2 separate regions of the Homo sapiens genome follow, and region 2 is linked to region 1. Evidence: promoter capture Hi-C in 16 types of primary human blood cells and fetal thymus (Javierre and others, 2016). All regions are on one chromosome and are shown on one strand. Each heading gives the region's core, a stretch centred on a gene start or on the middle of the fragment in contact. The rest is flanking DNA. Distances are from core to core; before and after follow the strand shown.

Evidence for each region. Contacts are between HindIII fragments. The CHiCAGO score rates a contact against its expected background, and 5 or more counts as called.
Region 2: a contact is called between a fragment that was not itself captured here and the fragment with the promoter of GABRR2 in region 1, in 1 of 17 cell types (neutrophils). The highest score is 5.0, in neutrophils.

Annotation. Positions count from the first base shown.
Region 1 is chr6:89,312,675-89,318,039 of GRCh38, forward strand. GABRR2 (gamma-aminobutyric acid type A receptor subunit rho2) reads right to left here and starts at 2,625. Exons shown (of 9, transcript NM_002043.5): 1 at 2,379-2,625. The coding sequence starts at 2,491. The HindIII fragment of the contact is 14,907 bases long and covers 1-3,177 here.
Region 2 is chr6:89,022,547-89,028,191 of GRCh38, forward strand. No RefSeq gene overlaps it. Among named protein-coding and RNA genes, the nearest start is that of PNRC1-DT, 55 kb to the right of the region's middle. The HindIII fragment of the contact is 6,199 bases long and covers 1,297-5,645 here.

The DNA of each region.
Region 1 (5,365 bases), core at 1,375-3,874:
GGAAAAATAAATTGTCAGAGGCTTGGCTGAAATGTTCACAAGGAGGCGTCACCCTGTTGACTGTCTGACTGTGTGTGCATTCTCATGGATGCAGAAAGGCCCAGAACCACATTCCCTGTCCTTTTCCCCCAGCCTCAGTTTAATAAATATTTTACTTCCTTGAAATGTATGTGTTCATCTTTTCCCACTTTAACACCTCATGGGCTGGATTTCAACAAAGTCTCCTCCCCACTAAGAGTCAGAGCCCAGCTGTGCCCAGGCTCATGCGCGGGTTTGGGAATGAGACTGTGGACTTCTGAGGAAAAGTGAGACGGAGGTGCCGCCAAGCCCAGGCTGCTGAGTGGGGTCCCTGGGCACCCCAAGGGACTTGTGCTGAACCCCAGTTCTTACAGAATAGACAGTTTTGAACAGATTTTCCTCCAGTCTAAGTAAATCAGGAACCTACATTCTAGTGTTGGGAAGCCACTAGCAGGCCGTGTGACTTACTCATGCCCCTGAGCCATTTCAGCATCTGTCAAATGAGTTGACTTGGACAGTTTCCCAGTGTGTGCTCCATGGAGTAGGAATCCCACAAGACAGTCCAAAAAACTGTGGATTTTTTAGTTGTTTCTGAGAAGCCCTGCATAATTTATCCCTCTCTTCAAGATTCTCACAGTGCCTATTTGCATAACAAAGGTTCTAAAAGTTCTGCTGTAGAGACATCTGTTGAAAATGGTCTAAACCAGGGTTTTCCACGTTTTGGTGGCCCTGGAACCCCATTTCACTCAACAGCCATTCACGTTTCCCAAAATTAGAGTTCAGGGGACTTGCTGGGCCGATGACATCTGAGGCTCCTTCCAGTTTAACAGCCTATGGTTCTGGCAACCCAACCCGCATGGGTTGTTCAGAGCAGGGCCTCTGAGGGTTTTGATCTGTTTGCCTTCCGCTGAGTAGGACTAGGCTCCAGAGAGAGTAATTATAGGCTGGGTGTGGTGGCTTCTGCCTGTAATCCTAGCACTTTGGGAGGCCAAGGTGGGTGGATCACTTGAGGTCAGAAGTTTGAGACCAGCCTGGCCAACATGGTGAAACCCTGTCTCTACTAAAAATACAAAAATTAGCCAGGCATGCTGGTGCACGCCTGTAATCCCAGCTACTCGGGAGGCTGAGGCAGGAGAATCGCTTGAACCCGGGAGGTGGAGGTTGCAGTGAGCCAAGATTGCGCCACTGCACTCCAGCCTGGGTGACAGAGAGTCCATCTCAAAAAACAAACAAACAAATAAACAAAAGAGAGTAATAACCTCTCCCAGAGCAGCAGTTGCCACTGGGATACTGGAAGTAGAGGCTGTAACTCTTATTTATATTCAGGGTTTTTTTTTTTTTTTTCTAAAAATAAGAAATCAATTAAACTTTAACATACATATTTATAACAGCACATGTATGTGATTTGTAAGTAAATATGCATGTATTAGAGGTACAGTTTCAAAAACTTGTCATTGACAGCAGCGCATGTTCAAAAATGTTTGGGGACTGACCTAGAAAATGTGCCTCAAGATATTAATTTATATTCAAAACCACTAGTTTATCTGATGCTTAGTAGAATGGAAAATAAATGTGTAACATGCCACACATGGTGTTTATATCTTAGCTGCTTGTTCTTTTCTTATCTCCATGTCTAACAGTCCTTATGTCTACTTCAGGCCTGGAGTATGATGCTTCGTATGTCAATTCAAAATAAACTTCCTAAGGAACTTAGATTTGTAATGTAATGATTTTGAATGCAGATCCTGGGCTATTATTTCTTGGGAATGTCTCCATTACATCATGAAATTGCATTCACTGTTGTTCACACATATATTTCTGATAATTAAGCAAATTTCTGAACACCTCTTCTAAGATTCAAAACAGTAAAATGAAACCCAATATCATTATAAAGTTATTCTCTGGCAAATAATTTAAGGAAGACAACTCCCGTATGCATTTTTTTCTTAATAGTTCAGGCTAGGTTCCTATATACAGTTCTCCCCAAAATACTTGAGTGTAATTATTTAGCAGGTCATCGGTTGTAACCCTGAGAAACAAAGCAGCACAATGTGATTTGTACAGAGAATGATTTTACCCACTACGTCTCCAACTATTTATATCTGCCTCAAATCAAAATGCTTTGGCTGAACGCAGGCATCCGAAGGAAGGCTCATCCCAGTCTAGTTCTGCTCTCAATGCTTGTGACACATAGAGTATGTGTGCCCAGGGAGAGGCTGCGTTCAGTGAAGTAGCTGGGTTCTCATTCTCATAGGGCGATATCTCAATAGGACCTTAGCCCCCTGGGGAGCCATCCCACTGTGCCACTGCTGCTGCTACTATGCAGGGTAACCTCCCTCCTTTCCCACCTATGACTTTACCTTGGCTTGGGCATTTCCACCTGCCCTGTCCATCGCTTCCTCTTGGGTTTTCTGCTCTCCACGAGAACCATCAAGCAAAACAAGAACAAAATGAGTCTTGTAAAATAAGGCATTTTGTGGACATCTGTGAGGCAAAAAGCTGCTTTCCAGTAGCCTGTGGCAGAGCAAATCCCCCCTGGCTTGACCATTGATCCATCTGCTGCCTCCTGACGGGCTGCTCTGAGGGGCTGTGAGGGCAAGGCTGGCCAGGCTAGTTGTCCCGATTTACTATTTGATACTGACGCCCCACTCACCCCCTCCACTCCGGGCCATGACACAAACACCAGGCTTTGCCCTCCCTGCTGATTAGTGATTGGCCATTAGTCGAGAAGTTTGTCCTCATGAAATTCTGCTTCCACTGAATCCTAGAATAGCTTTGGCTAAAGCTGTTATATAAAAAATTAAATCTCTTGAACATGCCAGCTTTGTGCTGAGATTATTGGTCCATCTTCTGGCTGCATAAAACCAGTCTGTCCCATCCACCAGGGGGTCAGCTCGGATTCCAAGTAGATTTGCAGAGAGGACTTGGTGGACATTTAGATGGGTACATAAATGTGTTCAGGAAATGCTGAGTAAACATGAATGACCTGTTTCCTTAGGGTTGATTTATTTATGGAGCTAAGAGAATATGCTTTGCCTATGAGCAAGGATACTTCCTTTCTCACAAATATAGATCAACTTTTTCCAGTGAAAACATCAAAGCATAAAATACATTTTTAGTTTCAAGGATGACATTAATCATAGAATTCATGATTATGTAAGCTTTTCTTCCTACCATAAGCATTAAATTAACTTTGGCCTTTAACCCTAAAATGTATAAAATCAATCATAAATTAGGCTTTATTCCTATCCTGGGATATGGAATTAAGCACATTAGAATTGTAGAGATACATGTGGTTATGTCTAACCTACTGAACAAAATAGAATATGTTTAAAAACTACTCATTGCTTGCTATGTCCTGGCAATGGAAAATTTCATGGTAGAAACATAGGGAGATGAGGACAGAGATCAGGAGGTGGGATAGCCGTAAGTGAAACAGAATTGGGATTTTACTATGTATAAATGACAGAATCAAAAGAAGCTCTTTGATTCCCTTAAGCAAAGTGAGATGGCATGATCTACTTTATTTTTGAAATAATTCCTAATTGGGATCAGTCGAATCAGGGAACTTATGATGACAAAAGAGAATAAGGTCCTGCTCTGAGGGAAGCGAAGAAGGAAGAAGAGAAAGGAAGACAGAAGAGTGAGATACTCAAGTTAGTTCTGCGGTAGCATACATTTGGTGCCTGTGCAGATAGAGTAGAAGGTGAGAGACAGAAAAGTCAACAATAATATCAAGAATTCTACGGTGGCTCACACTTGTAATCCCAGCACTTTGGCAGAGGCAGGTGGATTACCTGAGGTCAGAAGTTCAAGACCAGCCTGGCCAACGTGGTGAAACCCCATTTCTACTAAAAATACAAAAATTAGCCAGGTGTGGTGGTACGTGCCTGTTAATCCCAGCTATTCAGGAGGCTGAGGCAGGAGAATCACTTGAACCTGGGAGGCAGAGGCTGCAGTGAGCCAAGATCACACCACTGCACTCCAGCCTGGGCGACAGAGCATGACTCCGTCTCCAAAAAAAAAAAAAAAAAAAAAAAAGCTAGAGCATGAGCCTGGAGTTCAGGAGAAAGTCTAGTTCTATTTCTAGACTATAGAAATAGATCTGGAGCTGTAGAGACCAAGTGAAAGTTTTCCCTTTGCCCCATGGAGGATCACCAAAAAATCAACTGACAAAAGGAAGATTAATAGGGGAAAAGGCATACAGATTTATTAACATGCATGGAGGAAAATCACATCATGATTACCCAATTACCCAGCATGGTACAGACATTTATATACCCTTTTTCATAAGGAAGAGATGGGGGATGTAGGCAATTCTTTTGAGGGACAGTAAATCATTAGGGAGGATGAATGGACCCAGGAGGAAAGTGAGGGGTGGAACTACACAGGAACTAAAGTTGTCTTATACAGATAAAGTCCAACAGGTAATCTCTTAAAGCTGCCCTCAGAAGACTAGATGAAAAGTCTATCTGGGTGCAGTGAGAACTCCCAGTCTCTTCTCTTCTCAGATGGTTGATTTTTCCTGGTTATTTTGTGAGATCCCTAGGTAGGGGGTCTTAAGTGCATTTAAACTTTCTTAGATAGGGAAATTCCAGAGAGTCCCTCCCAGTTCTTTGTGCAAGAAGAGCAGAGAGCCTGACCAATCAGTAGGTTAACAAAGAAATTCAGACAGAAATTTAAAAACTTTTTGAAATGAAAAAAAGTACAGCATACCAAAGCCTGTGGCATATAACAAAAGCAGTGCTAAGAGAGAAATTTACAGTATTCAATGCCCATATCAAAAAAGTAGAAAGATCACAAACTAACAAACTCCTATGGCACCTCAAGGAACGAGAAAAGCAGAAGAAACCAAACCCTGAGTTAGCAGAATAAAAGGAATAACAAAGATCAGAGCAGAACTAAATGAAATAGAGACCAATAAAACGATACAAAGGATCAATAAAAAAAAAAGTTGTTTTTTTGAAAAGATAAAGAAAATTGACAAACCACTAGCTAGACTAACCAAGAAAAGAAGAGAGAAGCTCCAAATAAACACAATCAGAAATGAAAAGGGAGACATTACAAATGATACCACAGAAATACAAAAGATCATCAGAGTCTGTTATGAACAGCTTTATGCTCACAAACTAGAAAACCTAGAGGAAATGAATACATTTCTGGAAACACATAATCTCCTGAGATTGAACCAGGAAGAAATAGACCTCCTGAACAGACCAATAACAAGTAGCAAGATTGAATCAGTAATAAAAAAAATCTCCCAAAAACTAAAATAGTCCAGGACCAGATGGATTTACAGACAAATTCTACCAAACATACAAAGAACTAAAACCAATCCTCCTGAAAC
Region 2 (5,645 bases), core at 3,146-5,645, 290 kb before region 1:
TCCCCACAAGTACAGCAACCGCAAATTTCTAATCTGGTGAATGTGTATGATCAATAATGTTAAACAATGAAAATAACCACAGAATCAATTTATTAAAAGTTCTGGTCCTCTGGAAGTACCCTCTGTAATAAATCTCCTGTGCCAACTTTTTTTTTAAAAAAAGCAAGACTAGGAACAATTTCTCAGAAAGTATCATTTTGTATTACAACAGAAATCTATTCTTTTCATAATATTAGTTGAAGTAGCCACCTAGAAACAATCAATTTTAGCAGAACATAGAGTACTTCTACAAAGATTTATCACCAATATAGATTTCCTTTTTTAACTTAATGACTCACCAGCAAAAACCTTTAAAACTGGAAGGCTCTGTGCTTTGTGAGATTGCCAAAGTTAGTCACTGATTTATTCCCCTAAGTGTAATTTGGAAGAACCTGCTATGTAAATCTGAATACTGTAAACCATGCACCATGAATCTTTTAAAATCTAGTTTTCCTATTAATGGTGCCTAAATGCTTAAGAGCAGACTCACAAATTAGGAGGGGGAAGGGAGCCCTCTGGGACCTTTTCTGTGAGAAACTTTTGTGCTACAATTTCTACTGAACCTGCATTTGGAGGATCAGCAGCAGATTCAGCAGGAATGGAAGCAGAGAACTGGGTCCTTTGGCAGACAGACCTAACTTTCCAACCACAATAAAGACTGATGTCTTAAGGTTGGATAAATACTCCTGAAATTATTGAGTTTATCACAGAAAAGGGACCCTGAAAAGAAAAGTCATTCTTGAGTTAAAGCTACAAACAACTGTGAATTGTAATAAGTGTTCTAAAGGAAATGTGCACAGTACTATGATCATGTCTTTTTTCCTGTGAAAATGTCTGCAATGGGATTGACTTGGTCTAGGAGTGTTAGAGGAGTTTTCTTGTTTTTTTTTTTCCAGGCAGGGTCTGGCTCTAGCACCCAGGCTGGAGTGCAGTGGTGTGATTTCGGCTCGCTGCAGCCTCCAACTCCGGAGCTCAATCAATCCTCCCACCTCAGCCTCCTGAGTAGCTGGGATTACCAGTGCATGCCACCATGCCCAGCTAGTTTTGTATGTTTTGTAGAGACGGGGTCTTTCCATGTTGCCCAGGCTGGTCTTGAACTCCTGGACTCAAGAGATCCTCCCACCTTGGCCTCCCAAAGTGCTGGGATTACACGTGTGAGCCACTGTGCCCGGCCAGAGGAGTTTTCTTGAAGTGACTCTTTCCCTTATCTAATATTGCACAACAAACTACCCTAAAACATAATAGCACAAAGTAACAAGCTTAAAGAAGACAAAAGAGATATAGAGAGGAACCACTTTATTTGCACACAATTTTGTAATTCGGGCTGGGCTCAGATGGTCAGTTTCTCTGGTCTTGTCAGTGGTCACTCAGGAGGCTGCATCCAGCTGGCACTTAGGCTAGGCCACAGCTGGGATTCTCTCATGTAATCTTTCCATTTGGTCTCTCCAGCAGGATAATCAGACCTTTAATATGTTGGCTCAAGCCTTCCAAGAGCACAAAAATAGAAGCTGCCAGCCTTTCCTAAGGCTTAGGCTTGGAACTGACACAGCATCATATCTGCTGAATTCCACTGGTTAAATCAGTCCACCCAGAGTTCAGGAGAGGGGACTATCACACAAGGGCATGAATACTGGAAGATGGAATTCATCAGGGGCCACCTTGTAACAAGCTATTAGAATGACCTTAGGCAGCAACCTGGAAGATGAGTAAGAGTTAACTGGGCAAAGAGGGAGGAAGAATGTTCCAGGCAGGGCAGTAGTATATGCAAAGCAGTTATGGCAGAGGATCCCCAGGCATTTCTAAGTGACTGAAAGAAAGCCAAGTTTGCTGGAGCACAGAGATCAAGGGAACAGTGGGTACAGGCAGGAAGGGGCCAGACCATGTGGTGCCACCGCATTCTTTAGGAAACTTTCAAATGCAAGTGGTAGAATCCCAATGCAAACCAACTCAAGCAAAAATATAAACAAACCAAAACAAGATAAACAAAAATAAAAAGAGAAAGAGAATTTATGCACTTATATTCCTGGAAAGTCCAGGGCCCAGTGGGTTGACTTCAAGTATGGCTATATCCAGGGCTTCAAATGACATCACCAGGAATTTGTCTCCCTCCATCTCTCTCCCTTTTATTTTTAGATGGAGTCTCATTCTGTCACCCAGGCTGGAGTGCAGTGGTAGTATGATCTTGGCTCACTGCAACCTCTGCCTCCCAAGTTCAAGAGATTCTCCTGCCTCAGCCTCCCGAGTAACTGGGATTATAAGACCCCACCACTACACCCAGCTAATTTTTTTTTTTCTTTTGAGACAGTCTTGCTCTGTTGCCAGGCTGGAGTGCAGTGGCGTGATCTCAGCTCACTGCAATCTCTGCCTCCCGGGTTCAAGCAATTCTCGTGCCTCAGCCTGCCGAGTAGCTGGGACTATACAGGCACCCGCTACCACACCCGGCTAATTTTTGTATTTTCAGTAGAGACGGGGTTTCACCATGTTGGCCAGGATGGTCTCAATCTCCTGACCTTGTGATCTGCCCGCCTGGGCCTCCCAAAGTGCTGGGATTACAGGCATGAGTCACTGCGCCCAGCTAATTTTTGTATTTTTTAGTAGAAACAGAGTTTTGCCATGTTGGCCAGGCTAGTCTCGAACTTCTGACCTCAGGTGATCCACCCGCCTCGGCCTCCCAAAGTGCTGGGATTACAGGTGTGAGCCACCACACCCAGCCTCTTTTATATTTTGAATTTTTTTTTTTTTTTTTTTTTGAGACAGGGTCTCTTTCTGTTGCCCAGGCTGGAGTAGAGTGGCAAGATCACTGCAGCCTCTAACTCCTGGGCTCAAATGACCCACCTCAGCCTCTCGAATAATTGGGACTGCAGGTGCATGCCACCATACCAGACTAATATTTTATTTTTTGTAGAGACAGGGTCTCGTATGCTGCTGAGCCTGGTTTCAACTCCTGAGCTCAAACAATCCTCCCACTTTGGCCTCCCAAAGCACTGGGATTACAGCCATTGAACCACCACACCCGGCAGTCTCACCTTTCTAAAATCCTTTAGAGATTCCCCATTGTCTACAGGAACCCTTCTCCCAGGAGTCCATCACCATCCAGCCCTTGTCTCCCTTCCCAACTTTGTCTTCCCTTCTTCCTCCCATCACTTCCTCACCCCAGTTATACCTCAAAGGCTCCGTGCTCTTCCAGCTTCTAGGCCTTTTAATATACTGCTTCCTTGTCCTGGCATGCCCTTCTCCTTCAGTTTTCCTTTTATCAGTACAGCATAGTAATTGGGTCACACCTTCTTTCAAATCCTGACTCCTCTGTTTGCTAGCCAGGATGTTAAGCAAGTAACTTAACCTCTTGAGCTTTATTTTCCGCTCCTGGAAAATGGAGATAATAACAACCACGACCTCTGAGACCTAATGTAAAGATTGTTTTGTTTTTGAGACAGGGTCTCACTCTGTTGCCCAGGCTGGAGTGCCGTGGCACCATTACAGCTCACTGCAGCCTCAGTCTCCCCAGACTTAGGTGATCATCCCACCTCAGCGTCCCGAGTAGCTGGGACTACAGGCATGCACCACCACACCTGGCTAATTTTTGTACTTTCTTTTTGGAGACTGACTTTCGCCATGTTGCCCAGGGTGGTCTTGAACTCCTAGGCTTGAGGGATCCTCCCGCCTTGGCCTCCCAAAGTGCTGGGATCCAGGCATGAGCCACCACACCCAGCCTAGTATAAAAACTGAATGAGAAAGCAAATGTAAAACCCTTAGTGAAATGCCTGGCATAAAGGAAAGGCCCACTTAATGCCAGCTATCGCTGCACTCAAAATTCAAGTGTCGTGTTAAGTCATTGCTCTCTTGACTTCTATGGTTGGCTGAATGATAGCTCCCCAAAGAGGTTCACATCCTGATCCCTGGAGCCTGTTTATATGTTATTTTACATGGTAAAAGGACTTTGCAGATGTGATTAAGTTATCTTAAGATAGGCGAGTACCCTGGATTATCAAGGTGGGTCTGATGTAATCATAAGGGGTCCTTGTAAAAGGAAGGCAGGAGGTGAAAGAGAGGAGGAGGTGATGTGATGATGGTAGCAGAGGTGGGAGTGATGCAGCCACGTGCCAAAGAATGCCAGCCACTTCTAGAAGCTGGGAGGAAGGATTCTCCCCTGGAGCCTTCAGAAGGAACTGGCTCTGTCAGTGCCTTGATTTTAGCCCTTAAGACTCATTTCTAACTTCTGACCTCCAGAACTGTAAGAGAATAAATTTGTGTTGAATGAAGCCACAAAATTTGTGGTAATTTTTTACAGCAATAATAGAAATGAATATAACTTCCTAGAGATGGGTTGAACCCATAGCATTTACATGCAGATAGATAATTTTTCATTCATTTTTCTCACCCGTTAGGTGTGTGTGTGTTTTTAATTTTTAATTTATTTATTATTTTCTTTTTTAGTACAGAATCATCTGCTCTAAAATTTTTTTAATTTTTTTAATTTTTTTTTTTTTGAGACGGAGTCTCTCTCTGTTGCCCAGGCTGGAGTGCAGTGGTGCAATCACAGCTCACTGCACCCAGTGAACTGCCAAGAACTGCTGCTTCTTATTAATGTTTGAAACCACCTTGACCTCTTGGGTTCAAGGGATCTTTCTGCCTCAGCCTCCTGAGTAGCTGGGACTACAGGCATGTGCCACCACGCCTGGCTGATTTTTGTATTTTTTGTAGAAACAGGGTCTAGCCATGTTGCTCAGGCTGGTCTCGAACTCCAGGGCTCAAATGGTCCTCCTACCTCAGCCTCCCAAAGTTCGGGGATTACAGACGTGAGCTACCACGCCCAGCCAGGCTGTGTGTTAAGAGCTGCTGCTCTTTTTTGTTTTTTTAACTCCCCTCCTTTTTTTTTTTTTTTTTTTTTTTTTTGACAGGATCTCCTTCTAGACCCCAGGCTGGAGTGCAGTGGCATGATCTCAGCTCACTGCAACCTCTGCCTCCCAGGTTCAAGCAATCTTCCTGTCTCAGCCTCCTGAATAGCTGGGACTACAGGCATGTGCCACCATGCCTGGCTAATTTTTGTAATTTTTTGTAGAGACAGGGTCTCACTATGGTACCCAGGCTGGTCCTGAATTCCTGAGCTCAATCAATCCCCCCACCTTGACCTCCCAAAGCTCTGGGATTACAGGTGTGAGCTACCATGCCCCACCAAGAGCTGTTGCTTTTTATTAATATTTGAAACCACCTCCTATTTCCACCTCCACATACCTAGCACAATGCCTGGCATCTTCTCAAACTCCAATAAATATTTAATGAAGGTAAGTTTATGATCTCAAGTGTGATTTCTGTTTGGATTCGGTTCATGTAAAAAAGGAGGAACCAGCCGTGAATTCTCAAATAAGTTTCAGTCTGTGGCAAGCACAGATCTGGGAGATGCATCAAGGGAAACAACTGAAAACTTGTCTGGAGATTATTGTAAAAAAAAGAGAGAGAGAGAAGTGACTACAACTGAAAGAGTACCTGGCCCTGGAATCTTTTATATGATGAAAATTTTATGGGGTTCTAGTCTCTGCTTCTTGAAGATACAGTGGAGCTAGAAAAGATCCAGAGGACACCAAAGATGATTAAGGGCAGAAGGAATC